Linked DNA regions of Homo sapiens: regions 2, 3, 4, 5, 6 and 7 are each linked to region 1. Evidence: promoter capture Hi-C in 16 types of primary human blood cells and fetal thymus (Javierre and others, 2016). All regions are on one chromosome and are shown on one strand. Each heading gives the region's core, a stretch centred on a gene start or on the middle of the fragment in contact. The rest is flanking DNA. Distances are from core to core; before and after follow the strand shown. Region 1 holds the start of H2BC17 (H2B clustered histone 17). Region 2 has its middle 16 kb from the start of H2BC11. Region 3 holds the start of TRT-AGT6-1 (tRNA-Thr (anticodon AGT) 6-1). Region 4 has its middle 3.6 kb from the start of TRV-CAC6-1. Region 5 holds the start of TRV-AAC5-1 (tRNA-Val (anticodon AAC) 5-1). Region 6 holds the start of TRQ-CTG5-1 (tRNA-Gln (anticodon CTG) 5-1). Region 7 holds the start of POM121L2 (POM121 transmembrane nucleoporin like 2).

Region 1 (4,262 bases), core at 767-3,266:
ACAAGGTACGGGGACTGGGGAAGAGAACATTTTAGGGAAGTGAACGGCAAATCCTACAATGTATTTTGAACGACCCACTAACCAATTGGCATAATTCGGGGCTGTTTGTCACCTGTGACAGAGACGAGACTATTCGTCCGAGATAGCCTTCCACCCATAGCTGCAAAGGAAGTGACGTCAGGAAAATAAAGGAAAAGTTAAGGGGTGATTTTAAAGCCTGGAGTGGAATTGTGGAGGGGCTTGCTATTTTGCTGCTAAAGATTTACAATAGAAGTAATTTATTGAAGAGGGGATAACGCAGTGGCAGAGGATGCAATGCTATGAGAATTCAGGCACTGTTGAGAAGAGGGGATCATGCCTTGAAAAGTCTCCACTCCCTTGTACTCGCACGCTCTTGGTTTACCTCCTATTTCTGTGATCTCTTCTGGGGTCCGCTTCTCTTTAAACGCGGGGTTCTCCAACTTCTATCTCAGGATTCCTAATCATGGACTTTAAAATCCCAGCCTGAACGCTGCCCCCGCCCCAGCTAATCCTGGCACACCTCCCTCCCCAAGGCCAACTGATTAACATTGCAAAAAAGCGGCTTTCCCAAGTTGCCAGGTTCTTTGTTCAACATTTTATCCTAAAGGAGCTTCCTTAGCCTTTAATGTTTCCCGTCCCGCTTTGACACCAATAATTTCAACCCACCCTAACATATCTGCAGCGATGCCAGACGAGATGCCTATTCTCTAAAGTGTATGGAAAATGGACACCGGTAAGTCAATGTCACCCAGGATCCGTACAACTGCAGTAAGAGGGACGGTTAATTCACAGCTTCCAGCTCTTGGCGCCAGAGTCCGATGCACTCCTGCAGATAACGGTCATTTCCATTCCGGGAGAACCTCTTCGAAAAACAACCCGGATGAGACTATCTGGCAAATTGCAGCCCTTGGCGGGCTTTTCAAATAGAGCGTTGACCAATCAAAGAAGGGGGACGTTACAGGCACTGAAAGAATAACCCGGCCGCGCGCGATGGCTCACGCCTGATATCCCAACATTTTGGGAGGCCGAGATGGGTGGATCACGAAGTCAGGAGTTCGAGACTAGCCTGGTCAAGACGGTAAAACTCCGTCTCTACTAAAAATGCAATAATTAGTCGGGCACGGTGGCGGGCGCCTGTAATCCCAGCTACTTAGGAGGCCGAAGCAGAATTGGTTGAACCCGGGAGACGGAGCTTACAGTGAGCCGAGATCGCGGCACTGCACTCTATCCTGGGCGACAGAGCCAAGACTCCATTTAAAAAAAAAAAAAAAAAACAACACAAAAGGAAAGAGTAACCGAAAACCGAAAGCAAACTTGTAATTATAGCTTAAAGCACAACTGCAAGCCTTTTTCCCCAAGGGTATCTAAGAACCCAAGCTAAATTTGTCTGATGGAGCGTCTATACTCACACGCAAAAAGCCTAGGGAGCTTAGCTTACCTTTTCCCGCCGTCTTCCCTCCTAATGGAGGCCGGCCGGAGTCCACCCAAAAGACTACAAGCAAAATGCACAGGCTCTTTCTCTGGAAGCGTGAGTGGCTCTGAAAAGAGCCTTTGGATTGCTGGCAGCTGCGAGAGCTCACTTGGAGCTGGTGTACTTGGTGACGGCCTTTGTGCCCTCGGACACGGCGTGCTTGGCCAGCTCCCCGGGCAGCAGCAGGCGCACGGCCGTCTGGATCTCCCTGGAGGTGATGGTCGAGCGCTTGTTGTAATGCGCCAGGCGGGAAGCCTCGCCAGCGATGCGCTCAAAGATGTCATTGACGAAGGAGTTCATGATGCCCATGGCCTTCGATGAGATGCCGGTGTCGGGGTGGACTTGCTTCAGCACCTTGTACACGTAGATAGAGTAACTCTCTTTGCGGCTGCGCTTGCGCTTCTTGCCGTCCTTTTTCTGGGCCTTGGTTACGGCTTTCTTGGAGCCCTTTTTGGGGGCAGGAGCAGATTTAGCCGGGTCGGGCATGGCGGAGGAGAGTGAAAGAGCACTCAAATAACAAGAATGAGGACAAGCTGGGTTATGCCCTATTTATTTACAAGTCTATATGCAGATGAGATTGAGAAATTCTTCTGTCTGATTGGAAGTTACTCAGATGACGTTAATATCAATATAGTCCAATCAAAACACGTATATTCAGAAAGCTCATTTGCATTAAGAGGAAGCTGCAAGCTTAGCCAATGGCCCAGCTTCTTTTTCGCGCCCAGCAGCTGCTATAAAATGCGCGTCCCTGTAGGTTCCTTTCACTCACTTTCTGACTTAGGCCACAGGTCGTTTTACCATGTCTGGACGTGGCAAGCAGGGCGGCAAGGCTCGCGCCAAGGCCAAAACCCGCTCCTCTAGAGCTGGGCTCCAATTTCCTGTAGGACGAGTGCACCGCCTGCTCCGCAAGGGCAACTACGCTGAGCGGGTCGGGGCCGGCGCGCCGGTTTACCTGGCGGCGGTGCTGGAGTACCTAACTGCCGAGATCCTGGAGCTGGCGGGCAACGCAGCCCGCGACAACAAAAAGACCCGCATCATCCCGCGCCACTTGCAGCTGGCCATCCGCAACGACGAGGAGCTCAACAAGCTGCTTGGTAAAGTTACCATCGCTCAGGGCGGTGTTCTGCCTAACATCCAGGCCGTACTGCTCCCCAAGAAGACTGAGAGCCACCACAAAGCTAAGGGCAAGTAAGGGCTGAACTTTAAAAATGTAAACTTACAAGACAAAAGGCTCTTTTCAGAGCCACCCACCATTTCTACGGAAGAACTGAGCACTCTGTTCTCCAAACCTATCAGAAATTTGTGGCCGAGTTCAAGCACTGAGGCCATTACTTTCCTATTGGGTAAAATAAAAGTATTGAATCAGGCCTAGTAAATACTATCCAACTGCTACCTTATAACATGAAGGAACCTCCTTAATTGTCCCCTCCCCACAAACTGTCCTGGGTCTTTAAAAAACTTGGGGCCGGGCGCGGTGGTTTATGCGTCCTTAGCATTTTGGGAAACTGAGGCAGGTGGGTGGGGAGGGGAGAAATCTCTAGGGACCTGGAGTTCGAGACCACCCTGATAACGAGACCCCTGCCTCTTAAAAAAAAAATGACTGGGCGCGGTGGCTCACGCCTGTAATCCCAGCACTTTGGGAGGCCGAGGAGGGTGTATCACAAGGTCAAGAGATCGAGACCACCCAGGCAAACATGGTGAAACCCTGTCCCTACTAAAAACACAAAAATTAGCCGGGCGTGGTGGCGAGCGCTACTAAGGAGACAGGCAGGAGAATCGCTTGAACCCAGGAGGCAGAGGTTGCAGTGAGCCGAGATCACGCCACTGCACTCCAGCCTGGGCGACAGAGCGAGACTCCATCTAAAAAAAAGAAAGAAAAAAAATACCAGGCGCGAGGCCCTCGCCTGTATTTGGCGGACTGACAGCAGAAGGAACACTTGAGTCCCAGGAATTTGAGATTTCAGTGAGCCATGACCTCGCCACTGCACTCCAGCCTGGGTGACAAAGCGAGACCCCGTCTCAAAAAAAGAAAAACAAAACCCAAACAAAAGTATTTCTGGTGATCATTTGCTCCTGTGAATATAATAAATGTTAAACTAACCTTTTTGTTGTCTTTATGGGTCTTTATCAATACCAGAACCTGGTAGTTCTTTGATCAACTAAAATCTCCATCCTAATAAAATGCTGTTGTCAGAACTACCCAGATTCACTGGCAAAAATCTAATCACTGACCCAAACCTGTAATTCCGCGCATGCTAATGAAATTAAGCAATAATTTACATAATTAATCCAATCAGCCATTGGATTGCATTAAACTCAGTTAATGAAGAGGTCAGATACCATTTATTGGTATCATTTAGTCAAGCACCTATCAAACTCCTTCCCCACACCACACTGGACAAAACTAAAGTTTTGGTGTTTTAGAGAATGTGCCAGCCTAAGTTTAAATTGTTTTTGTTCTGGGTCTTGGTACAGTCATTAAAAGATTTAATTAAGCAGTTACAAAACGGAACTACTTTTTGGAAATACTAGCAAATACGTTGTTCTACTGTATGTATTTTTACACGATCCGAAATAGGAAAAATGACCCATTGGAAATGAGTTTAAGACTACGACTGACCTACACAAATTCTAGGTCAGATTATCTTTTCATTGGGGGAATCTTAACATGATTGGTTGAAAACAATAAATAAAAGTGGCGCGGAGGACGAGCGCAGTGGCTCACGCCTGTAATCTAAGCACTTTGGAAGTCCGAGGCAGGCGGATAACT
Region 2 (4,262 bases), core at 598-3,097, 780 kb after region 1:
GGAAATACTTATAAATGCACTTACCTGATAAAGGACTGGTATCCAGAATGAACAATACTTAATATAGTACTCTCAACACTAAGAGGATAAACAACCCAATTAAATAAGTGGGCAAAAGATATGAACAGACACTTCAAAGAAAACATATTGTTAGCAAATAAGCACAGGAAAATACTTTGAATATCAGTCATTTGGGAAATGCAAACTAAAATCACAATCAAATACCACTACACATCTATTAGAATGCCTAAAATTTAAAAGACTGAGGGTGAAGTATTGGAAAGGACATAGCGGAATTGGAACTCTTATAAATTTGTCCTATGCATGTAAATACTATGGAAAACATTTTGACAGGTTCTTAAAAAGTTAATCATATAACTAATGTTGTTAATCATACTACCATATGATTCAGCCATGGCACTTCTAGGTATCTACTCAAGAGAAAAGGAAATATGTGTCCATATAAAGATTTGTACAAAAATACTCATAGCAGCTTTATTTGTATTAGTTAAATCTGGAAATAATCCAAATGTTCATCAATAGATGAATGGCTAAAATATTGTGGTATATCCCTGCAAAGAAATACTATTAAGCAACAAAAGAAACAAACTGTTGATTCAAAATATGTTACTCTTCTTTTTCTTTTTGTTTGAGATGGAGTCTCACTTTGTCACCCAGGCTGGGGCACAGTGGTGCAATCATAGCTCGCTGTAGCCTTGAACTTCTGGGTTCAAACCATCCTCCTGCCTCAGCCTCCTGAGTAGCTGGGACTATAAGTGTGTGCCACCACACCCAGCTAATTTTTAGAAATTTTTTTGTGGAGACGAGGGGTTGTGGGGGGGTGGTGCAGTTTCTCACTATTGCCCAGGCTGGTCTTGAACTAGTGGTCTCAAGTGATCCTTCCACCTAGGCCTCCCAAAGCACTGGGATTACAGTGTTAGCCACTGTGCCCAGCCTAAAATATGTTAGTTTTTTGTTGCTGCAAAATACATTAGCACAAACTTCAGGGTCTCAAAACAACATACGTTTATTATCTCAGGATAATAAATGATCAGGAGTCTGGGCATGACTTAGTTAGGTCTTTTGCTTAGGGTCTCACAAGACTAATTGAAGTGTCCCACCAGGATGCATTCTCATCTAGACACTTGACTGGGGAAGAATCCATGTCCAAGCTCACTCAGGTTGTTGGCGGAATTCATTTCCTTGCAGCTTTAGGTATGAGGACACCCGCTTCTTGCTGGTTGCTGGCTGGAAGACGCCTTTAATTCTGAGAGGCTGCCCGCACTTCCTAGAGGAGCTTGAAGCTCCTGGCCATGTGGACTTTCCCCACACGACCACTTACATCATGAAACCAGCAAGGACTGCTGAGTAAATAATTATGCTGAGTAAAAGAAACTGATCAAAATACAGTACATACTGGATTCTATTTTTACAAAACTAGAAAATACAAACTAATCTACAGTGACAAAGGTTAGATCAGTGGTTCCTTTGAGTTGGGGGACAAAGTGAGATAGGAGAAAGGTATTACAAAGGGGGACAAGTACATTTTAGAGGTGATAAGTTCACTTTTTTTTTTTTTTTTTTGAGACAGAGTGTTGCTCTGTTGCCCAGGCTCGAGTGCAATGGCGTGATCTTGGCTCCCTGCCATCTCTGCCTCCCGGGTTCAAGTGATTCTCCTGCTTCAGCCTCCTGAGTAGTTGGGATTACAGGCATATGCCACCATGCCCGGCTAATTTTTGTATTTTTAGTAGAGATGGGGTTTCACCATGTTAGTCAGGCTGGTCTCGAACTCCTGACCTCAGGTGATTCGCCCGCCTCGGCCTCCTGAAGTGCTGGGATTACAGGCGTGAACCACTGTGCCCAGCAAGTTCAGTGTCTTGATTAGGGTAACGGGTTCATATGAATACTTATGTCACACTCATTAACATGTATACTTTATGTGCAGTTTATCATATGCCAATTATACTTTAGCAAAACTATTTTTAAAAGCAAAAATGTAAAAAAAAAAAAAAGTAATTCTAAAAAAAAATGATAAAATTACACCCACAGCCCATTCTGTTGTTCTTCCTACTTCTGCCTCCCAATAGTGGCAGTCAGAGGGGAAGAAGGAGGACCCCAGGTCACAAGCAGCAGAGATGAATATATCTCAGTGGTTTGTGATGGTCTTGTCTTGTCTGAATGTACTCACATCTGAAACTCCATAGATCACAAAAGAATATGAAGTCATTGGCCATAACTGGATGCAGACTCATATTCACTGTGAAAATACAACAACATGGGATACGGAATAATGAAAAGAATTAAAAAATTTAATAATGACACTAACAAGAGTAAAACAACTTTAAATAATTGATCATTGGTCTCACTGTACTAAGTTCTTTATAAATAGTCATATACTTAATCTTGAAAAGAATTTTCCAAAGTGAGGTAGGAGATCAGCAGGACTTCTTTTCCAAGCACCGGTAATGACCATGCTGATCAAAAACAGGATGCAGTAAAAAAAAAACAACAAAAAAACCTCAGCAGAGTGGTGGCTCACACCTATAATCCCAGTGCTTTGAGAGGCTGAGGTGGGAGGATCCCCTGAGCCTAGAAGTTCGATATCAGCTGGGCAACATAGTGAGAACTCCATCCCTAAAAATGTAAGTTAAAAAAAAATTAGCGAGACATGGTGGCCTACATGTGTAGTCTCAGCTGCTTGTGGGGCTGAGGTGGGAGGATTGCTTGAGCCTGGGAGATCAAGGCAGCAGTGAGCTACGATTGTGCCACTGCACTCCAGCTGGGGCGACAGAGCAAGACCCTGTCTCAAAAACAAAAAACCCTGGCTGGGTGCAGTGGCTCACACCTGTAATCACAACACTTCAGGACGCTGATGTGGGCAGATCACCTAAGGTCAGGAGTTCGAGACCAGCCTGGCCAATATGGTGAAACCCCATCTCTACTAAAAATACAAAAATTAGCTGGGCATGGTGGCATGCACCTGTAATACCAGCTACTAGGGAGGCTGAGGCATGAGAATTGCTTGAACCCGGGAGGTGGAGGTTGCAGTGAGTCAAGATCGAGCCACTGCACTCCAGCCTGGGCAATAGAGCCAGACTCAGTCTCAAACAAAACAAAACAAAACAGCTGGCTGAAACCAGCAGATGGTGACAAAGCAACCTCTAGTTGCCCTCACAGCTCATTAGAATAAAGACACTCCCATCGGCGCCATGACAGTTTACAAATGCCATGGACATGACTCAGAAGTTACCCTATAGGGTTCTGGGAGCTCCCCCCACCCCTTTTCTAGAAAATTCTGAATAACACACTACTTAATTAGCATATAATTAATAGTGGGTATAAATATAGCTAGCCTGTGTGCTTTACTGTGGCTCTTTCTTCAGTTCTGGCTCCTGCTCTGACTCCTGCTCTGGACTGCTCCTGTTGCTGAACACTGCTCCTGCCCTTCCTGTCTGTTCTACTGGTGGAGCATCCACTTTGCTGTACACTGCTATTCTGGGCTGTTCTGCCTGTGGGTTAGTTGTGCTTTCTGCAGCATCCACCTTGCTGTACACAGTTGCTGTAGGCTTCTCTGCCTATGGGTTAGCCTTGCTTTGTGGAGCACCCGCTTTGCTGTACTATGCTGCTACTCTGGGATGCTCTATGGGTGAGCCTTGCTCTGTGGAGCACCTATTATGCTGCATGCTGCTACTCTGGGCTGCTCTGCCTGTGCGTTAGCTTGTGCTGTGTGGAGCGCCCACTTTGCTGCATGCTGCTACTTGGCTGCTCTGCCTGTGGGTTAGCTTGTGCTCTGTGGAGCACCCACTTTTCTGTATACTACTACTACAGGCTGTGCTGCCTGTGGGTTAGCACACAGGTCGCCCTTTGTTTATGGAGCAGTTTGCTGTACACTATTGGTCTAGGAAGTGTTTTTAAATTAACTCTGAAGCCAAAAGCCCTCCAGGGTTAAGTCCCAATTTTGGGGTTCACCTGTGTCAGCCTGGTGACCCTGAAGGAAGGAACCATCAAAATGAAGAGACCATGAAGGGAGCATCAAGATGAGCGGGTTGACCATCAAGATAAAGTTTGGAGTTGTGATACTGTAATGCTATATACTAGCCAAAGGCTCTTTTCAGAGCCATGTTTTCTTGGTGACTAACTGGTTGTACACTGAAGCTTTGGAAACCTTTGCCTGGACCCAAATTAATGGCCAATTGGCACCATGTGGTTTCTGTGATTTCCCTGTCATATTGACCTTTCTGGGTAAACCAGGAAATGAAAGT
Region 3 (4,262 bases), core at 827-3,326, 730 kb after region 1:
AACTTGTATATCCCCAGTCTTACCTGTCATCAGCAAACCCATTGCTTTTTACCAACAGAAACTTTATTAATTTTTCCCTTCATCCCAACCCTTTCATATTGTGATGCAGTTACCTGCAAGGGACTCTCCATAATTGTGCTAATCGCTCAATACGGATTTCACAACCTATAAATTCCTTAATGCATTTTCAACATATGTATTTGCAACATACTATTGAAAATATAAAATTGAACACGTAAGGCCCCGCTGGGATTCGAACCCAGGATCTCCTGTTTACTAGACAGGCGCTTTGACCAGCTAAGCCACAGGGCCCCTGTTGGGCATATGTTCAGATATATCGTATTTATAACATTTTTGTAAAATGTATCAATTTGACAAAAGTGTACTTAATTTTGTGACAAAGAAAGCACATCTGTGTTTCTGAACCAGCAACAAAGCAGCAATTCCAACACTAAAAAAAATACTTTTCTTCAATGCAAGATTTCAGAATTTATTTCAAATTGAAATGAGTGAAATTTCTATTTCATGGTGACTATCTCCCCCTACAGGAAATATTGGATATCGCAACATATTTTAAATTTATTTCTCTGTTCGTGCATTCATTCTGTCCACAAATGTTGAGTCATTACTGCATTTCAGGTACTTTTCTAGGTATTGGAGAAAGAACATTGAATAAAACAGCAAAATTTTCTTCCATTATTGAATTTATGTTCTACAGGGAGATAAAACAACAACAAAAAACACCCCAAAACAAACTAACCAACTAAAAAAATCCAACAACAAACAAAAACACAAGTGATATGGAAACCAATCTCTTTACCGCTGGGTTATAGAACCCACGACACTACCTTCTGAGCTAATTCACTGCAATTGAGTAAAACCATTATGCTTCCTTCTATTTTATCTAATCTGGCACAAGAAAGTGAGCCTAGACGAGGACACAGTGATGTCGTGGAGATCTGTGGTCACCCTGCTTCCCACTTACCCAAACTAGGCACCTTGAGACCCTCTGTTTCAAAGACAGCTTTGGTCTCAACAGGAGATCTGCTGTTAGAAACAATGAGTTAGGTGTACACAGGGAGTTCTCCTGGATGGATATCTTTGCTTCTGTCATAGTCTTGTTCTGCTCATTTGCCTGCTGGGTTAAAATAGACTCAATTTCTAGACCCACATAGATTGTAAAACTGCGTGGATGATACAGAGAAGTAGAGAACAAAGTAGAGTACAATGTGATAGCCCTCACAGGATGCTGTGGGAACCTCTCACTTGGGCCTCACAGAGTTGCATGACCTTTTATCTCAGGTTCTTTGTCAGTTTAATGAATGCAGAAGGAGTCATGGAATGTTTAGCTGAATGCAGCTTAGCATGGGGAAAAGCAGATGAAACCAATATCCTGAAATATTTAAATAACTGCCTGGTGCTTTGCATATGCATTCATTAAGCATCCACAAAATGCAAGACCCTGGAAAGATGAGAAATTACTTAGGTTGAGGTTGAGTTTTTATTTTTTAACCAAGCCTGGTGTTGCTTCTGATTTATTTCCTGTGGGTCATGAACCTCTACTCACTACCTAGCTAATCACAAAGCCAGGTTATACCAATTTTTCAGCTTTATTGGCTGAGGTTTTTTGTGAAGCTTAGTTATGTATTCCCCGACTTCTGTTTCTCACTGACAGGTGTTTCATAAATCTTGGTATGTGTAAAACCCTGGAAGAAAAGCCCTTTGTTTCTCCTTTTGGAAATCTTTCCAAGATACAAGCAGACATTTCAACATAAAGTAGGTGCTGGAGTGGTGTGGCTACAGATAGATTGCTGCACCCTTGAGAGAAATTAACACTACGAAACCCCTGCTTAAAGTGTTTCATCCGGATTTCTGCTGACATTAGAAGGAAAGTTCTTTTCCTGATTCCCTGACTTTTGGGGCTATTCTTTCTAGAACCTACCTTTTCCCACAACATCTGTGTCTTCCCTAAACTTATGGCCTATCATAGCAAACATTTTGGCCAACATCCGCCTTATAAAAAGCCTTGCTCAGATCTTCAAATAAGCCTCAATACTGAGGACAGACAAAACCCTTCTTATTATTGTTAGAACTACCTTATCAGCATCAAAGAAGCACAGGATTGTAGTCAAGTTAAATAGATGCTGAGTCTGGTACCAGTCTTTGCAATATTACTACTGCATGAAGGCCTTCCACCACTTAAGTAGCAATGATATTTATTTATTTAGCTCCAAAAATGGCTTATTTTATTATTTTGTTTGTTTGTTTGTACCTTACTGAGCTAGTGCCATCATGCATTTACCACCCTTAAATCTTTAGAACAATCTTAGAAGGTGGTAACTTTCATTAATTTCCATGGAGAGATGAGAATGATAAAACATAGAAATATTAAAAAGTCATTTCAAGACCATGAATGCCATAGGTAGAGTAAAACAGTTTTCTTTCTGAAAATGTGGTTGGCAGACTGTGTAAGATACTTCCATACCAATATTAGTGCATTCATAAAATGCAAGCTTTTAATCTCACAATTCCCCTGTTTATACCAGATTTCTAGCAATGCTCACTCAAAGCTGCAAAACATTATTGTGAACCAGAGAACTTCACACCTCTAAGATAAACATGTGCTTTGCACTGAGTATCATATGGTACACGCCAAGCAAGCTCTCTACTTTTCGAGCAAATCATACAGCATGGGTTTTATTGAGCCCTATTACTCACTTGTCACTACAATTTTATTCTGTAATAGATCTAGGACCCTAGCTCTCTCACTAAGAGATAGCCTCTGAGTCAGAGTCCATAGATTTCTGCTACTCAGGCCAGTAAGATCTGAGAAAATGTGTTCTGGAGAATTGCAAGATCAAAATGTTTATTGCTTTAGCAGTTTTATCATTCACTTGTGGCAAAATAATTGACAAGAACTGATCCTTTAGGGTCAATACATACTTGATCCCTGTCTTCACTCTTGTAAGACTGAGTCAAGATAAAATAGACTAAAAAGAAAATTGAAGTAGAATGTGATACAAGTGAACATGAATAACCACTACAAATGCTATTAAATTACTGAGAAGAGGCCTAGAACCTGACCTGTTGGAGAGATGATATCCTACAGTATAAGGCAGCTCAGCTCAATTACAATATCTCTGAGTTTCAGAATCCATGTCAGCTGGATGGACAGTTGGAGAAGAAATGGGGGCTATTTTAGCCCCAAGAAGGAAAGAACAAATCTCTTTTGCTGAAATTTTTGATAAGTTGCTAAAAGTATGAGTATTCTTTTTTTTTGAGACCGAGTCTTACTCTGTCACTCAGGCTGGAGTGCAGTGGTGTGATCTTGGCTTACTGCAACTTCCACTGCCTGGGTTCAGGCAATTCTCGTGCCTTAGCCTTCCGAATAGCTGGGACTACAGGCCTATGCCACTATGCCAAGCTAATTTTTGTATTTTTAGTAGAGACGGGGTTTCACCATGTTGGCCATGCTGGTCTCGAACTCCCGACCTCAGGTGATCTGCCCGCCTCGGCCTCCCAAAGTGCTGGGATTATAGGCATGAGCCACCACACCTGTTTGAATACTAACCTTCCACCAGGGCCAGGAGGGACGAAGTGCCATTAATGTGTTCTCAGAGTGCTGTGCTACTAACTAGAACTGGGCTCATGGAAGCGCCTCTGGGGATCTGCCTGTCTCCAGCCACCTCCTACTGGTCCTAGGTAGCACCAACTACTTCTTTCCAGCCACCTCCGTATCTCAGATCAGCTCTCCTCCACTCCCGCCTCACCCAGTCTACTTGGCTCTTTAGAACTCATTCTAGAAACTGAACGGGCTAGAAATGGGGGCTGTTCTTCTGGGCCATTATTCCCCCCCACCCAAATTCCTTCAATTACTCAAATTTCTTTAATTTTCTCCAGATGATCAAAGGTTACAGTTTTTCAGCATTGGTCCAGCTAGGATACTTAGAAACGCGTGATTAATAATTTGTCTTTTGTGTTTTAAGAAAGATCTCCACAACAAACCTGGATCCCCTTTTGAACAGTCCTTTCCTCATGCCTACCAGTGTTTGAAAGTAAAAGTTTTCCATTAAAAAAAAATTACCTCAGTTTCTTCACATACAGCCAATGCCAACAAGACTGTAGGGCTTGGGTAGGGTTGGGAAGAGAATCTTTGGAGAGGGGAAAAAAAAGACAAGGCAACAAGCGTAGACACTCTCTGCTTGGCTGACTGGTTGGGGCACCATGATGAATACTAGTGTTTTTTGTGTACAGATTAGATC
Region 4 (4,262 bases), core at 1,763-4,262, 690 kb after region 1:
GCCAAGCGTCATGGTGCGTGCCTGTAATCCTAGCTACTCAGGATGCTGAGGCAGGAGAATCGCATGAACCTGAGGGGCAGAGGTTGCAATGAGCCGAGATCACACCACTACACTCTTTAGCCTGGGTGACAGAGCAAGACGCTGTCTCAAAAAAAAAAAAAAAAGAAAAAGAGTTTCGATCCTGCAATTTTATGAGAAGAGGGTCCTATGAAGAAGACTATGACAAGTATCAGAGGAATAGAAAGAAAGTCAGGACAACTGATATTGCAGAAGCCAAAGGAGTAGTTCTGGAATAAACAATAGTAGAGGTAATTCAAGCAAGTGATCAGAAATGCAAACACTACATAGGAATTTGTGGCAAAAAGCTCTGGAAATATAGTTATGAATAAAACAGAGTTCCTGTTTTGGGGAGCTTTCTTGCAACCACCAAGTAAATAACTAAATAAGATAATTCAGATGATGGGGTTCAGAACATGCTACCCCGAGATATGACATCTTGACATTTGACAAAACCACAGAAGCAAGTAGGTCACTCTCACTTTTCCGTAGCCCTTCTCCCCTAAAGCAGGTCAGGAGATCTTCATTCCAGAGGTGCCCTTCCTATAACTGGAGGAAAGGAACATGTTTTTCTCTGAAGACACAGGGACACACAGAAGAACCTGAACAAGTAAGCCTTGCTAAATTCCCCCAGTTTATTATCCTTACATCACACCCTCTTTGTACAATTATACTTCTGCATAACTATCTTCTCTTCGTCAACCTATCATAAAACTACAAATGTTTCCCTGTTTCTTTAGGTCTTCATTTCTAGTCTCTCATATCACACAAAGCTTATGTTAAATACACTTGTATGCTTTTCTCTTGTTTAATCTGTATTTTGTTATAGAGGCCTCAGCCATGAACTTGGTGAGAAAAGATGTTTTTCTCCCTTGCTTAGGCCATAAGGATAATGTTTAAAAAACAGATAGCTTGCAGAGGATGAAGTTTAGCCGTCTTTCTTTCTGGCAGCTGTATACTAACTTTGCAGGATGAAGGAAGAGTGGGCTTCCTTTGCTAAATGACTCTGTGGGCTTATTAAAAATGTTTTAAGGCCGGGCACGGTGGCTTACGCCTGTAATCCCAGCAATTTGGGAGGCTGAGGTCAGGATCACCTGAGGTCAGGAGTTCAAGATCAGCCTGGCTGGCCAGCATGATGAAACCTCGTCTCTACTTAAAATACAAAAATTAGCTGGATGTGGTGGTAGATGCCTGTAATCCCAGCTACTCAGGAGGCTGAGGCAAAAGAATTGCTTGAACCTGGGAGGTGGAGGTTGCAGTGAGCTGAGATTATGACACTGCACTCCAGCCTAGGCAACAGAGTGAGACTCCATCCCAAAAAATTAAAATTAAAATTAAAATGTTGTAAGTACTTTGACCTTAAAATAAAAAGCTGTAAGTGTCTATGTGTTTCCACTAGTTTTGATCCTGCTAATTTCTGGATTGTATAAATGAATAAGTATAAGAGAAAAATCCCCACAGTCTTCTGACAAATAACTGTCTTCAGAAATAGCTCACAAAAGGAGTAATCAGCCTTAAGGACCAATAAAATAAGAAAGAAAAAACTGCTTAAGATGCCATCTTTTGTTTGATAAATGTTTTGCCTAAAAATTGGAAAACTGGGCAAATGTAAAATGTAAAATACATTTGAAAATATGTCCTCAAGGCTGGGCATGGTGGCTTACACCTATAATCCCAGCATGCTTTGGAAGTCGAGGCCGGCAGATCGTTTGAGCTCAGGAGTTTAACACCAGCCTGGGCCACATGGTGAAACCCTATCTCTACAAAAAATTAGCTGAGTGTGGTGGAGCACTCCTGTAGTGCCAGCTACTTGGGAGGCTGAGGAGGAAAGAGCACTTAAACCTGGGAGATGGAGGTTGCAGTGAGCCAAGATCACTCCACTGCACTCCAGCCTGGGTGACAGAATAAGACCCTATCTGGAAAAAAAAAAAAAAAAAAAAAAGGAAGAAAAGAAAAAAAGAAAAAGTCTTCATATTTAAAGAATTAGTGAAAATAGAATGAGACATCAGACTACCTTAAATCTCTCTTTTTGAAAGGTGTTGTCAGGAAGTGAATATTTTCATGTTCTGCATGGTTTGGCTTTCTGGGCAAGGGAAATTGACACATTAGTGAATGTTCTGGTTTCCCTAGACCAATTTGCTTCTCACATTTCAAAAGTGTTATCTCATTTGAAGGATAATACAATTTCTCTCTCCTGGAACCATGGAGACATTTTAAGGCTTATAAACACGGAGATGCTTATCTTATCTTCCACTCTGGAGACATTTATTTACATCCCAAGAGTATGAATCCTGAGACTTTTCCTCTCTCTTTTTATAAGAACTTGTTTAAGGCCAGGCTAGGTGGCTCGCGCCTGTAATGCCAGCACTCTGGGAGGGCGAGGCGGGCTGATAACCTGCGGTTAGGAGTTCGAGACCAGCCTGGCCAACATGGATAAACCCCGTCTCTGCTAAATATACAAAAATTAGCTGGGCATGGTGGCAGACACCTTTAATCCCAGCTCCTCGGGAGGCTGAGCAGGAGAATCGCTTGAACCCAGGAAATGGAGGTTGCAGCAAGCCGAGATCTTTCCATTGCACTCCAGCCTGGGCAACACGAGCGAAACTCTGTCTCAAAAAAATAAAAATAGGCCAGGCGCGGTGGGTCACGCCTGTAATCCGAGCACTTTGGGAGGCCGAGGCGGCCGGATCACGAGGTCAGGAGATGGAGACCATTCTGGCTAACATGGTGAAACCCCTTCTCTAATAAAAATACAAAAAAATTAGCCGGGCTTGGTGGTGGGCGCCTGTAGTCCCAGCTACTTGGGAGGCTGAGGTAGGAGAATGGCGTGAACCCAGGAGGCGGAGCTTGCAGCGAGCCAAGATCGCGCCACTGCACTCCAGCCTGAGTGACAGAGAGAGACTCCGTCTCAAAAAAATAAATAAATAAATAAAGGCTGACAAAGACAGCACAAAAAAGAAAACTGCAGACCAATACAACTCATCAACACAGATACAACAATTTTTAACACAATATTATCAAATAGAATACAGTAATAGAGAAAAAGAATTATACACTATGACTGTTATTGGCTGAATTGTGTTCTCCCAAAATGTATATTCTGAAGTCCTAACTCCCAGTTCCTTAGAATGTGACTATATGTGGAGATAAGATCTTTAAAGAAGTTATTAAAGTAAAATGAGGGAATATGGATGAGCTCTAATACAATATTACTGGTGTCTTTATAAGAAGAGATTAGGGGCCGGGCGCAGTGGCTCATGCCTGTAATCCTAGCGCTTTGGAAGGCCGAGGCGGGCAGACTACCTGAGGTCAGTAGTTCGAGACCAGCCTGGCCAAAATGGCGAAACTCTGTCTTTACTTTAAAAAAAAAATACAAGATTCAGCCAGGCCTGACAAAATTAGCACACGCCTGTAATCCCAGCTACTCGAGAGGCTGAGACAGGAGGTAGGAGGCTGAGCGGGAAGCAGAGGTTGCAGTGAGCCGAGATTGCACCACTGCACTCCAGCCTGGGCGACAGAGCGACACTCGGTCTCCAAAAAAAAAAAGAGATTAGGACACAGGCAACACGCAGACTGAGTGGTTAATCATGGGAGGACACAACGAGAAGGCAGCCTTCTGCAAGTCAAGGAGAGCTACCTCAAAAGGAATCAAACCGGCTGACACCTTGCTCTTGGATTTCTAGGCTCAGCTGCGAGAAAATACATTTCCATTGTTTAAGTCCACCCATCTATGGTAGCCCTAGCAAACCAAGATAATCACCAAGTAGAATGCAGGGGTGGTTCATGGCCAGGCGTTGTTGCTCACACTTGTAATCCCAGCACTTTCAGAGGTCTGGGAGGCCAAGGCAGGAGTATAACTTGAGGTCAGGAGTTCTATGACCAGCCTGGCCCACGCTGGGAAACCCTGTTTCTACTAAAAATGCAAAACATTAGCCGGGCATGGTGGCATGTGCCTGTAATTCCAGCTACTCTGGAGGCTGAGGTACGAGAATCACTTCAACCTGGGAAGCTGAGGTTGCAGTGAGCAAAGATCTCGCCTTTGAACTCCAGCCTGGATGACAGAGCAAGACTCCGTCTAAAAAAAAAAAAAAAAAAGAATGCTAGGGTTGTTCAACATTTGAAAATTAGTCAACGTAATTAATGTACCATAGTCACACCAAAGGAAGAAAATCACATTATTATATTAATTGATGAGGAGAAAAATT
Region 5 (4,262 bases), core at 971-3,470, 660 kb after region 1:
AGAATCGCTTGAACCAGGGAGTGGGAGGTTGCAGTGAGCCGGGATCGCGCCACTGCACTCCAGCCTGGAGACAGAGTGAGACTCCTTCTCAAGAGAAGAAAAAAAAAAAAAAAAAAAAAAAAAAAAAAACAACCAAAAAAACGAAACTACGCTCTGTTTCTGCCCGGTTTCGAACCGGGGACCTTTCGCGTGTTAGGCAAACGTGATAACCACTACACTACGGAAACTCGCTTAGTGAGAGTGTTTTTCAGTTTTGAATTAGTTAAAATGAACTTTAAATTTATCCGTTCCGTCAGGGTATATCTTTGGCAGAGGGGTAATATTTTCCCCTACACTTTCTAATTCTTAGAATACATAGTTTAAAACCCGACAACTCGAAATCAAGCAAATGCTTCTCCTGAAGCTTCAATTCCTTCAGAAGCACAGGGCGGGGAAATATCAGGCAGTCTCTCGGGAAATTTTATTTCAGTTCATTTTTTTTTTTTGGTATGTTCTCTGCTCTCTGCTCTCATAAGACGCTCTAATGTTCATTTCTCGATGACTGAAAATTAAGCAGGATATTGGTGACCTCGAGTATTTTTTTCTTCATGCTAGCAGCCTGTCAGTGAGATTCATTCAAAGTCCCGCTTACTCCTAAATGAGACTCTTTCTTGAGGTTTGAAACAAAAGGCAGACGCAGTGTTCATGCAAAGGCGTATAACAAGAAATAAATAGCTTGGGTGTGTAAGGGGAAGTTTAAAATCAAGACAGAACAACCGTATTCATTAGGATCAGTTACCAATGAGCAAATATCTATATATCATACATGGTAATTGGTAATAAATACATATGTATATTTACACATATGTATATATATGTATATATGCTTCTCACACTATGTATTTTTTGCTGTTTTATATACATATATATATATGAACATGAGGATAAGCTTCCTCATCCATAATTATCTCATCCTTAGCATAGTGAAAAGCATCTAGTAGGCTAGATTTTATAAATCCTAAAGAAGCGATAGAGTTCTGCTAACTATGGTAAAAATTTTCGTCAAAAGATAGCATATTTGATCATCAACAGCTATTTGATAGGAATTAAAACATAAATTCCATGAGGAAAAGGATATTTTGTCTGTCGTGTCCACTGCTTTATTCCCAGCTACTTAATAGTCTCTGGCTTAGGACTTTTAGTAGAGAATTAATTAACATTTCTTTAGTGAATGAATGAATGAGAACAAGTAACAATCAAGAGTTCAGTTTTGGATATCTAAACTTACCTTTTTTCAGTGTATTGTAATTGATGGGTCTTTCAAACTTGTGCCAATTGAGATGCATATAAAATTGTTTAGCACTTGAAATACTCTCCTTACTTTATCTTGTAGTGAGACTATCCTTGGATTTTACTGTAGCCATTTTTTTTCTAGCATTTGTACCTGTCCTCAGCTATGACATTTTGTGTTAGTGTAGTGATTATCACTGTGTGTTATATGCAGAAGGTCATGGTTTTGCTCTGCAGGAGATCCAAAATAAACCAAGGACTGATCCCTTTATCCTGCTTTTTAAATTTCATAATAGAGAGACCAATGAATTATTTTACAATTGTTATCATCTGGTTGCCTGCTCCAGCAGACTACAGGGTTCTGGGGTCTGGCTAACATTTCCTCATTTTTTTCTGGCTTCCATAAAGGGCCCTCCACAAAGCCCAAGTGCTTACAATTGCCAAACATTCAGAATACCAAATTAACAGCTGATTTCTGAGACTAGCATGGAAGCTGTGAAAAATGTGGAAAGCTGCCAGCTTCAGCCAACAAAGAGTAGGCCAGGGATTCAGATGGCCTGAGAAGGTCTTGAGTCCAGAACCCCAGGAATAGAAAATGCCCAGGATATAAAGGCATTTGCGTCTTTCTAGGGCAGCTCATGTGGATCTGGCTTTTAGCTCTATATTTTGAAAAGTTGGAGCGGTAAGGAAGGCGGAATAGTAGTAACTGAGCCAGCATTTGTCAGAACTTAGGGAAAGTGGTCAGAAAAATAGCAAGCAGCTTGCAAATGAGGTTCTGTCCTGGATGTGATATTTGTTCTTTCAGCTTAACCTCAATAGACTGAAGTGGTGAAATGAGAGACAAGAAAATTTGACGTAAAATTTTATTTTCTAGACTCTTTGGTATTTGATCCCAATAAAATGATGGTTCCCTATCACCACAAGTGGATATCACCACACACTATTTTACCAATCCTTAGGATTCCATGGTGAGAAAAAATCATAGTAAGTCACAGATAGACCTAATTATAATGATGGCAAATTAAGCACAGCTTTTGCTTTCTCTTTATTCCAAACTACACTTATACAAAGCATTAAGGGTGTTTAAAGACATAAATACACAGGGACAAAAAGATGAGAAAATGATGAGCAGTAGCAAGTAGCAAGATTTTGAATGCCAGAGAGCAGAATGATTAGTGCTAACAGAAGGGAAAATCTTATTGTGTTAAGTATCTTTTTTTTTTTTTTTTTTTTTTTTTTTTTTGAGACGGAGTCTCGCTCTGTCGCCCAGGCTGGACTGCGGACTGCAGTGGCGCAATCTCGGCTCACTGCAAGCTCCGCTTCCCGGGTTCAACGCCATTCTCCTGCCTCAGCCTCCCCAGTAGCTGGGACTACAGGCGCCCGCCACCGCGCCCGGCTAATTTTTTGTATTTTTAGTAGAGACGGGGTTTCACCTTGTTAGCCAGGCTGGTCTCGATCTCCTGACCTCATGATCCACCCGCCTCGGCCTCCCAAAGTGCTGGGATTACAGGCGTGAGCCACCGCGCCCGGCCAAGTATCTTTTTAAAAAAAAATTTCTTTTTAAGATTGGTACATGCGGCCAGGCGCTATGGCTCAGGCCTGTAATCCCAGCACTTTGGGAGGCCAAGGCAGGCAGATCACAAGGTCAGGAGCTCGAGACCAGCCTGGCCAACATGGTGAAACTCCATCTCTACTAAAAATGCAAAAAAAATTAGCCGGGCGTGGTGGCGTGTGCCTGTAATCCCAGCTACTCGGGAGACTGAGGCAGGGGAATTCCTTGAACCAGGGAGGTGGAGGTTGCAGTGAGCCAAGATCATGGCATTGCATTCCAGCCTGGGTGAAAGAGTGAGACTCCATCTCAAGAAAAAAAAAAAAAAAAAAAAAGATTGGTACATTTACATATACTCTAGTACATCTCATAGTTGCATAATATTTAATATTATGTGTTTACCACACTTCACGTATCTACTGTTCAATGTTGGCTTCAAGGCTGAATCTGATTCTGGAAGAGGAAAAATAGTGAGGCAATTAACATCCACATATGATACAATCTATATCTTTGTGACATGAGGGGGAATATACACCTAGGAGCCGAATACCTAGGTCATTGAGTGTGTCAATCTTAACTTGAGTAAAAAGTATTAGACTGCTTTCCAAAATGGCTACATTAATATAAACTTCCACCAGCAGGATATGAGGGCTTCCATATTCCCATTTCTGCAATAATGGACACATCAAGCTTTCTAATTCTTCCAATGTAATGTAGGTTGAGTAATAACTTATTTTATCTTGCATTTTATATTGATAATATTAAATATTTAAAATGTTAATCTTTTCAGGTTCTTCTTATCATGGGTTTGATGAGGACCCTGTCCCTATTCTTTATATATTTTCTTTTCTTTCTTTTTTTCTTTTTGAGACAGAGTCCTGCTCTGTCACCGAGACTGGAGTGCAGTGGCACAATCTCGGCTCACTGCAACCTCTACCTCCTGGGTTCAAGCGATTCTGCTGCCTCAGCCTCCCGAGCAGCTGAGACTACAGGCGCCTGCCACCACGCCCTGCTAATTTTTGTATTTTTAGTGGAAACGGGGTTTCACCGTATTGGCCAGGCTGGTCTCGAACTCCTGACCTGGTGATCCGACAGCTTCGGTCTCCCGAAGTGCTAGGATTACAGGCTTGAGACACCGCGCCCAGCTTCTTTACACATTTTCTATTGAGCTTGCTGTTTGATCTTGCTGATTTTAATGGCTTCTTACTATATCATGTAGATTAAGTTATTTTCATTTGTAAATATTTCAAGTATCTTCTACTTTGGTTGTATTTGTCTATTTACTGTTCCATTGTGGCTTTCTTTGATTTGGGTGCAGCAGACCATATCAGTGTTTTGCTTTACTGTTTGTGGTTTTTTTTTTTTTTTTGAGACGGAGTCTTGCTCTGTTGCTCAGGCTGGAATGCAGTGGCACGATCTCGGCTCACTGCAACCTCCGCCTCAC
Region 6 (4,262 bases), core at 781-3,280, 600 kb after region 1:
TTGAAACCTCTAATTTTTTTTTTATGTCCATTGACCATAAATCCCCAAGAGTTTCACCGTTTTTCTTCTGGTTTGAATTACCTTTACATTCAATGGTGGCACACAATAACAAACACAAATCAACGATTTTGGTAAGTAATTTAGAATACACGAAAAGTAGAGTTGCATTGGAAATGCATCTTTTAGTGAAATGGCTGTTAATATTTTTTTCTCCATCAATTCATTGTCCGCGGATAAATACTTCTTATAGCCGGAATAAGAAAGGTTCAGTGGAATTAACAACAAAAAGATCAGTAGATTGTGGTTTTGAATAAGTCCGAGCCTTCCAAAAGGTGTTTTTATGATTATTTAAGGTGCATTATTTAAAGTGGAATCTTCAACACATTCTCATTACGTTTATCTAAATTTAATAAATAAATTTTAGCAATAAATAAAAGTGATGGCGAGCAGGAGATTTGGGAGGACGTAAAATATATAACTTTACGGATATCCATATTTGTATTTGTATTCATATTTGATAAAAGTCCAAGAATTTTCCTACGAGTCTCAATAATTGTAAAAAAAAATGAAAACACTAACTTTCCATGGCCCAATATGTACGTTCCGTTTTGTTAAAAATGGAATGTTATTAGTCGGAAGTAAATGAGGAATTTGTCAGTTCCTTCATAAAATCGTGTAAAATACGCAATTGAGACACACATCTCTGTGTCTTGTTTACAGAAGACTTTGGAGACACCAGCATTTCCAGTTGTTCTGTCACGGTAAGATATTATCTAAAAGGCGAGAATGATTTGCAGGGGAAGATGGAAGTAGGGAGCATTCACATCCCATAGGGAGCTAGTGCGCGGTAGGGGAGACACATATGGGGAAATGTTTCTTTGTAGCCTCTAGGATCTCGTGGTCTCCGGCCCAGCAACCCTGTCGCTAAGCTTCTCGGCTGCACCGGGCGCTGGCTTCTCTGACATTCCTTAGCGCAAGAGCTTTTTCCTGTTCACATTCCCTGCCTTCTCTCCTCGCTCACAGCTTTCTTCTTTCGTCCCCGCCTCTCTCCAAAACCAAACCGCCCCAGCAATTTCCGGGTGACTGAACTTCTACAATCTGTCTAAGAGGGTCCGAGCTCTGAAACCCCTTCTTCAGGAGCTTGTCCATGCCCAGACGGAAATGCCAAGAAAGCCGAGTTGCTGAGCGCCCAGCAATGAGCTCAGGGAACCCTCACTAGGAAACGCTGCGGGAGGTTGGTGGCTGGGGAGATTGGCGGGGAGAGGGCGTAGAGTAAACTCTGTTATCCTGGGAAAGGGAGTCTTTTCAGCTCATTTCCCCCTCTTCTCTGTCCAAGTAAAACTTGCTTGTGCAAACTCGAAACAGCATCTATCTCTATTGACTATTGACTATCGCCAGTTGTATCTTTCCCGTCACCTGTTCTATCTGCCCAGCCCTCACAAGTTGAGCTTCTATCCCCTTGTGGTCTTGTCTGAGGACAGTTTTCTCTCGGCTTCGGCGACTGTCACCTCTCCCAGACCCATTTAGTGGGTAAGTCCTTTCCTCAGTTTCCATCCCAGCTTTTCTCTGTTCGTGACTATCACCAAATTTCCTTTCTCTCTTCTCACTAGCCTCCTATCTATTGTCTCCTCACTTGTTTGCAGATCTTTTCTGGAGACTTTGATTTGCAGTTCCAGCAGGACTCGAGCGACTGCCTCGTGCATTTCCTTTTGAGGCTTCTCTCTTTTTTCTCCAAAGAACAAATTGTGCGCAGCAAAAAGAAAGTTATTATTTGGTTGGCAGCTAAAGATACTCCGCTCAAGAGATGTGACGTGGAAATACCAGGAATAAAATTTGGTCGAGTGATTTGTATGAGCAACAGTATAGATTGTGGAGAGACGATGGGGATTTGACTGCAGAGGACTAAATCCAAGGTTCCACCGAGATTTGAACTCGGATTACCGGATTCAGAGTCCAGAGTGCTAACCATTACACCATGGAACCTGAAGCTGAACTAGCATTTCCTAAAGTCATAGGTGACCTATTTCTCCACTTTAGGTTCCTTCCCTCCGCCCCATAGTTTGGGTGATGGGTGCATTCTGCTTTTCCTCTTGGAGGATTAAGTCAAGAAGACGCTTACCTGCCACATGCCTACATTCAACACCTTTTACACCACAGTCTTAATGGAAAACGTTGACTTCCAACTGTCAGGAGTCCTCTAATCCTAAACCACTCCTTTCAAGTGCTTTAGGAGCTTGGCGCCCCGGGCCTCGGCCTCTATTTCATCAATGGTAGACAAGTGAGATTGTTAAACAAGACTGTGTGCCAGGTGCCAGGCACACAGTATGCCAGGTTACCGTGTGCCAGTTTTTGTGACAAGTGTTTTCTATTGTTACCTTACCTGTGAGGCTCACAACCACGCTGTGAGATGGGACCCATAATCTCTATTTTACAGGTGAGAAATTTGAGTCAGATACCTGAGATGCTTTACTCCTTTTCGTTATAGATCTAATTATTTTCTCAAAAATCGTTTTTACCAGGGTAACATGTAGCGTTTTTAAGGACACGTTATGGAAAGATTTTACCGAAGTCACAGGGGAGCCACTTTGCTGTTTACAGAAAGCTGAAATAAATGCACTTGAACTACTGGGTTAGAGGAAGATCCCAGCAACCCTAGGATAGCAACTCAGGGAAAGAAGGGGAAGGGTAGACAAAGGTCCCTCTGGAGTTTCCCAGGACAGTGCATAGCTCCCCTGGTCCTTCCACTGCCCTTCACCAATGAGAAATATGTGCAGGGTAAACTTCCAAACGGACACAAAGAAAACTCCCTGCTTCTCCCTCGCATATCCCTTTGTGACACACACAGGAGCCCATGTGAAAACACAAACACAGACACACACACACACACACACACACACACAGAATCGGTTTCTGTGAACAAAACAAAACAAAAAGTCTGTGTTCCTTGTTTAAAGTGATAGCTTCCTCACAGGACAATGTCGTCTGTCAGTTAAATTCGAAAGGGTTTTCAGAGACACATATCCACAACCTTCTAAGGATTTATTCTCTTTATCTTGTGTCTCTACAATTTGAGAAAGAAGGTAGGTTTCAGGACTAATTTGGAAGGAAAATCTGAAATCAAATAAGCTTTATTTTTTTAAAAAAAATGCCAGTTATTTTTCCACTCCTTGAACTCTTCCCCGCCCCCCCCCCCTTTCATTAAGCAGGCTCCCAGTCTTGGAGGTCTCTGCTCTGAACAGCTTTCTGTCCCCAACCCTTATTCCTGGAGGAAACAGAAAGAACATTTAAAAAAAGAAGAAGAAGAAGAAGAAGATTATTACCTGGGGAGATGTAGCATTTCAGATGATTCGGAAACGAACTTAGGTTCTAGGTTCGTTAAGAAATGGGGACGGTTAATTTGAATCATCTTAGAGCATGAAAACCAAATTTCTCGAGGGGGGAAAAAGCCAAAGGCCCGTACGGGGATCGAAACCTCGACCCTGGCATTAGTAGCAGCACGCTCTAACCAACTGAGCTAACCGGCCGACCGCAAATCTGTGCTTTTGTTATTCATCTCACCCGCATCCTCGCCCCTTCTCCGTGAAAGTATTAAATTCTTCAACGTAATTCCTGTTTGTCTTACAGGGAGGAACAATTTCTTAGTTGCTTTAGAGTCTTAATAGAAATAACGAGAAATTTCCTCTTAACGCAAAAACAAAGCAAAATGGCTGTATTCGTAGACTTGAAAGAGGACGCTTAAACATTTCAAACTGTGGCTAATGGCCCAGCAATTTATGGAAATATTTGCTGCCTTCTGAATGTCTAGTCAATACATGCAGACAATGAATCAGATTCGGTGAAATATTAATGAGTCTTTGCTTCGTAAAAGCCGCTCACTAATACAACATACAAATTGGTACTTGAAGGATATTCCCAACGAGTCTGATTCTCGATGGTCCCATGATCGAGATCGTCCCAGGTTTCTTATGTCTAGATCCTCAATTTGGGAGTCTTCCTATGTGTTCCTTCAGATTCCTAAAGTGACCTCAAATCAAAGGTCGCTTCGAAGACCTTGGTATTGAAAAATGCTAGAAATGTGGTTCTAGTCACCATTCCAGGGGCCGTTAAACCCAATCGTTGTCTACTCAGCCATTGTTTCCCAAAAGCTTTACCATTGTTTTTAATGTCTTGTTTATCGTTCCAGAGATTTTGAATACATAGACAAAGTTACACAAGTGTTTTCTTTTTTCTCTTCATGAATAGTGGCATTTTATACACTTTTT
Region 7 (4,262 bases), core at 862-3,361, 580 kb after region 1:
ATTTTTGAAAGGTAGCTTTGTTAGATGTAGAACTTTGGGGTGACAGTATTTTTTGTTGAACACTGAATATCTTATCCCACTGCCTCTGGCCTCCATTGTTTCACATGAGAAGTCAGTTGTTAATTTGTTTAGGGTTCTTCTGTAAGTGATGAGTCATTTTTCTCTTGTTACTTTCAAGATTTTCTCTTTGTCTTTGTCTTTCAGCGCTTTTACTTGACATGTCTGTTTGTGGAACTCTTTGTATAATCCTATGTAGAATTTGTTGCGCTTTCTGGACATGTAGATTAATGTTTTTCAATTAGATTGGGAAGTTTTCAGCCACTCTCTTTGACAATTTTTTCTACTCCTTTCTCTCTTTCCTTTCCTAGTGCTTTCATTTTGTGTATGTTGGTGTGCTTAATGGTATCCCACATTTCTTTACCACCTCTCCTGCAACCACGGTTGCACTCTGTTTGCTATCTCTATTGTTTTGCCTTTTCCAGATTGTCATATATTTGAAGTCATATGTAGCCTTTTCAGATGGTTCCATTCACTTAGCAATATGGATTTTAGGTTCCTCTATATCTTTTCGTGACTTGATAGTGCATTTCTTTTTAGTGTTGAATAATATTCCATTGTATGGTTATGCCACAGTTTATTCATTTGCCTGTTGAAGGACTTCTTGGTTGCTTCCAATTTTTGGCAACTATGAATAAAACTTCTATAAACATTCACATGCAGGTCCTTATGTGGACATTCACTTTAAGCTCATTTGGATAAACACGTGGATTGTGGTGGTTGAATTGTATTGTAGGACTGTGTTTTAGCTTTGTAAGAAATTGCCATACTGTCCTCCAAAGTGGCTGTACCATTTTGCATTCTCATCAGTAATGAATGAGAGTACCTGTTACTCCACCTCCTCCTTAGCATGTGGTGTTTTGAATTTTAGCCAATTGAATGGTGTGTAGTAATATCTTACTGATGTTTAATTTGCAATTATGGTATCTTACTGATGTTTAAATTGCAATCAGAAGTATTTACTGATGTTTAGTTATATATAGCTAAATATTGACATATAGCATATGTCAATGATGTTTGGCATCTTTTTATACTGTTTACCATCTGCATATCTTCTTTGGCGGGGTTTCTGTTTAAATATTTTGCCCATTAATTTTTTACCTTATTATGAGTTTTAACATTCTATGTATATTTTGTATACCAGTGCTTCAGCAGATACATACGTATTATGCAAATATTTTCTCCAGTCTGTGGCGTGTCTTTTCATTCTCTTAACAGTGTCTTTCACAGAGCAGAAGAGAACAGGAGGTGGCCTGAGCAAGGGACTGAGCCAAGTGCTTGTGGAGGGCTCAGGTTCTGGGCCGTAAGATGCGATTTCCCATTCGCCCACTCCGGATCTCTGAGGCCACTCCTGACGGCAATCTGCATGAGTTCTCCAAGTGCGAATAGGAAGGAAACCTGGATTCGGCCGCTGGGAGACACAGGTGGATCTCAAAGGTGGCTGTGCGGCAAATGACTGACACCTACTGGCGGCGTCACGATCTGCAAAAAAAGAGAAACGCGGAAATCCTCAATCAGCTGCTTTCCCGACTGCTAGTGCCACAAATGCCATCCGGGCGGCACAGCCACCGGTCCAGATCTCCAGTCCTGAGCACCTGCGAAAGCCGCCCGCACTCACTCTACGGGGTGCGGATAGTGCTCCCCACTCAGACTCCGGGGATCCCGCGGGCCGACAGATCTGCGCCGGGGCCCTGAGCCGCCTGAGCCTGTACCTTCGAGGCCAGTAATAGTCGGAGCCTGGAAACTGTGCACCCACTCGATTCCAGCTCTGCGCCACTTGGTGAATCCGGACCACAGGGTCCCAGACAGCCGCTGCCGACGCCAGGGGCGAGGCGCAGTGAGCTTCCTCTCGAGTTCCTCTCCCCGCGCCAAGTACTGCAACTCGCTGCGGAGACAGCAGAGGTCTGACCGCCCCGCTGAGGTCTCAGAACAGCAAAGCAAGTTACTGGGACTGCCGAAGTCCCGCGTGTCCCCCGTTCCCGCGGGTGCCGGGCCTGGAGAGTGCTAAGCACCCTGAGACTCGCGCTTTCCTAGCGCGTGAATCCCAACCGTCAACCGAACACTGCGCTCTTCGACTCTGTCCGATTCTGCAGACGTCCGAAACCTCGGAAGCCAAAACCGTGCTTGAACTCACTGCCCGCGCCTCATCTCTCCTCATGGGCAGTTTCCTGAGCAAACTGGAACTTTCGCCCTCGTCCCCAGCCCAGGTGCGCACCGACTTGCCCGAGAGGCCCACGAAACGCCGGCCACCTCAGCCCCTTCACCAAGTTCATCGGGTTCAGTTCGTCCACCGCGCCCACCCTGCCCCACGGTATAGACCTGTGAGGAGGCGGCCAAACCTGGATCCTGCCAATCCAACCACGTGGCTGGCCAACGAGGCCTGGAGGCGCTTTCCCATGAAGAAGTCCCAGAATTCCCCCCTGGGGCCTCTCCCTTCAGACTGGTGGGAAAGTTACTTAAAGCGGACTATTTGGTCTCTTCGACATCCCAGGCCAATTTGGAGCCCAGTGACCATCAGGATCACTCCTCCTGACCAGAGAGTGCCCCCTTCCACTTCTCCTGAAGATGTAATTGCCCTTGCAGGACTCCCGCCCTCTGAGGAGCTCGCAGATCCATGTTCAAAGGAGACAGTGTTGAGGGCCCTCAGAGAGTGCAGAAAAGGGAAAGGGAGGTTGGAAGAACCACTATTCCCTGAGAGTCTGGACAGTAAGAGAAGGAGTCCAGAGACCAGACCATCGGCATTTAAGCCCCTGATGAAAAATGGAACCCTCACTTCTTTTGTGCCCAGGCCTGGGCCGCTGAAGAGAAGTCTCCACTCCTGGGGCTCAGATCACAGCTTGACTAAGAGGCCCAATTGCTCCTCCATGAGCTCCTTGGCCAGCATATACAGAGGTGGCACCCTCAGCTCCAAAAGGAATGCTATTGGCAGCTCTTACAGCTCTTGCAGAAATTTCTCAGACCCTTGGAAGAGAAGTGTTCCCAGTGTATCATTCGAGACACCAGAGTGGCCAATAAAAAAGGAAAAAAGTTGTCATCGGCCTTCCTCTCCAGTCCCACTGGTATCAGATTTTGAGTCCCTAGGAGGATCTGAAAGTTCTGGGCAGCAAAACCAGAAGATTCCACAGCTGCCGTCTAGCCCTGAGAACCTGGTGTCAGAGATCCCACCTCCCCAGCTTGGTTATGCAGTCTCTGATGAGAACTTGACTTTGGGGAAGAAAGCTGAGCTACAGGTAAGCAACAACGCAGGAGAAGATACAACTGAGGTCAACACAGACCCTTTCCCTGAGACTTGGCTTGCTATTCAGCCTTCCTTGTCTCTTGCTCTGCCTTCTTCAGAAACAGATCTAACCCAGGGAGCAAATCCTCAGTTGGAAAACTTAAGAAAAATGCAGAAGTCTCTAGGTCCACTGGCCTCTCCACAGTCCACGGGAGAGGCAACCAGTGTGGCCCATTCTCCTTTGAAGACACCCAGCCTACCGACCCCACCTGGGTGCTCACAGTCAGAGCTCCTTCCAGGCACCTCTCCAGACTCAAAGCCCACAGCTACTTTCATCCTGCTGACCCCCACCTCTCCCACATTACCAGTTACTGACACCACCTGGCCGCCTTCAACCTCTCAGGCTGACAGGTCTCCCATGCCCCCAGACCCACCTGCACCACCCACCATCCAAAGTACTTTGCTTGGAATGGTGAGTAGCCCAACATCCCATCTTTCTGCATCTGCACCTCCTGATGCAACTTCTGCTCACCTCATGTTAAAACCGATTTTGGGGCCCCTGCACAACAGCGAGATTGGAAGCTCCTCATATTCCAGAATTTCAGTCACAGCTGCAGCATCTTCAATCTCTTCCCTTTCCACAATTCAGGGTACCTTAACTCCTACCTTCAAGCCTATCTTTGGCAGCATAGATCCACTTAAAACTACGCCCATGATAGCTCCTTTCTCCTCCAAGCAGACCCCTCCTCCATTTACTCATGCTTCTACCCATCATTTCCATGGCCTGGTCAAGGCCACCTCTGTGGTCATGTCCACCACCCTAGCCAGCACATCTAAAGACTCTGTTTTTAAGCCACCTTTGGATTTTGGTGTAGTGAATGTCACCAGTGCCGTAGGCAACACTTATTCTGTCCCTTCCACTTGCGACACTTTCCTGCTTGGGACTGCTCAGGCCTTCAGGGCCGACTTCACCCCAGCCACAGGATTC

The links. Contacts are between HindIII fragments. The CHiCAGO score rates a contact against its expected background, and 5 or more counts as called.
Region 2: a contact is called between a fragment that was not itself captured here and the fragment with the promoter of H2BC17 in region 1, in 12 of 17 cell types (naive CD4 T cells, naive CD8 T cells, total CD8 T cells and 9 more). The highest score is 9.7, in naive CD4 T cells.
Region 3: a fragment that was not itself captured here is called in contact with the fragment with the promoter of H2BC17 in region 1 in 17 of 17 cell types (total CD8 T cells, non-activated CD4 T cells, M2 macrophages and 14 more); the score reaches 66.5 in total CD8 T cells.
Region 4: a fragment that was not itself captured here is called in contact with the fragment with the promoter of H2BC17 in region 1 in 8 of 17 cell types (total CD8 T cells, total CD4 T cells, naive CD4 T cells and 5 more); the score reaches 8.9 in total CD8 T cells.
Region 5: a fragment that was not itself captured here is called in contact with the fragment with the promoter of H2BC17 in region 1 in 1 of 17 cell types (naive B cells); the score reaches 6.1 in naive B cells.
Region 6: a contact is called between a fragment that was not itself captured here and the fragment with the promoter of H2BC17 in region 1, in 1 of 17 cell types (naive B cells). The highest score is 6.2, in naive B cells.
Region 7: the fragment with the promoter of POM121L2 here is called in contact with the fragment with the promoter of H2BC17 in region 1 in 1 of 17 cell types (total B cells); the score reaches 6.4 in total B cells.

Annotation. Positions count from the first base shown.
Region 1 is chr6:27,891,179-27,895,440 of GRCh38, reverse strand. H2BC17 (H2B clustered histone 17) reads right to left here and starts at 2,016. Exons shown (of 1, transcript NM_003527.4): 1 at 1,550-2,016. The coding sequence starts at 1,978. The coding sequence ends at 1,598. H2AC17 (H2A clustered histone 17) reads left to right here and starts at 2,256. Exons shown (of 1, transcript NM_003514.2): 1 at 2,256-2,742. The coding sequence starts at 2,292. The coding sequence ends at 2,684. RefSeq lists enhancers at 1,253-1,392, 1,783-2,022, 2,043-2,586, 2,933-2,982, 2,587-3,130 and 1 more. The HindIII fragment of the contact is 3,889 bases long and covers 1-2,184 here.
Region 2 is chr6:27,114,248-27,118,509 of GRCh38, reverse strand. No RefSeq gene overlaps it. Among named protein-coding and RNA genes, the nearest start is that of H2BC11, 16 kb to the left of the region's middle. RefSeq lists an enhancer at 3,200-3,299. The HindIII fragment of the contact is 4,621 bases long and covers 1-4,157 here.
Region 3 is chr6:27,158,321-27,162,582 of GRCh38, reverse strand. TRT-AGT6-1 (tRNA-Thr (anticodon AGT) 6-1) reads right to left here and starts at 312; the gene lies at 239-312. The HindIII fragment of the contact is 878 bases long and covers 1,638-2,515 here.
Region 4 is chr6:27,200,425-27,204,686 of GRCh38, reverse strand. No RefSeq gene overlaps it. Among named protein-coding and RNA genes, the nearest start is that of TRV-CAC6-1, 3.6 kb to the left of the region's middle. The HindIII fragment of the contact is 4,360 bases long and covers 833-4,262 here.
Region 5 is chr6:27,231,474-27,235,735 of GRCh38, reverse strand. It overlaps TRV-AAC5-1 (tRNA-Val (anticodon AAC) 5-1), which reads right to left and starts at 227; the gene lies at 155-227. RefSeq lists silencers at 154-203, 214-263. The HindIII fragment of the contact is 2,580 bases long and covers 931-3,510 here.
Region 6 is chr6:27,293,154-27,297,415 of GRCh38, reverse strand. TRQ-CTG5-1 (tRNA-Gln (anticodon CTG) 5-1) reads right to left here and starts at 1,983; the gene lies at 1,912-1,983. It also overlaps the pseudogene TRS-ACT1-1. The HindIII fragment of the contact is 2,197 bases long and covers 932-3,128 here.
Region 7 is chr6:27,310,122-27,314,383 of GRCh38, reverse strand. It overlaps POM121L2 (POM121 transmembrane nucleoporin like 2), which reads left to right and starts at 2,111. Exons shown (of 1, transcript NM_033482.4): 1 at 2,111-4,262. The coding sequence starts at 2,214. LOC105375107 reads right to left here and starts at 2,215. Exons shown (of 3, transcript XM_011515048.2): 1 at 2,192-2,215; 2 at 1,770-2,061; 3 at 648-1,539. The coding sequence starts at 2,215. The coding sequence ends at 1,172. RefSeq lists a silencer at 1,760-2,054. The HindIII fragment of the contact is 14,547 bases long and covers 1-4,262 here.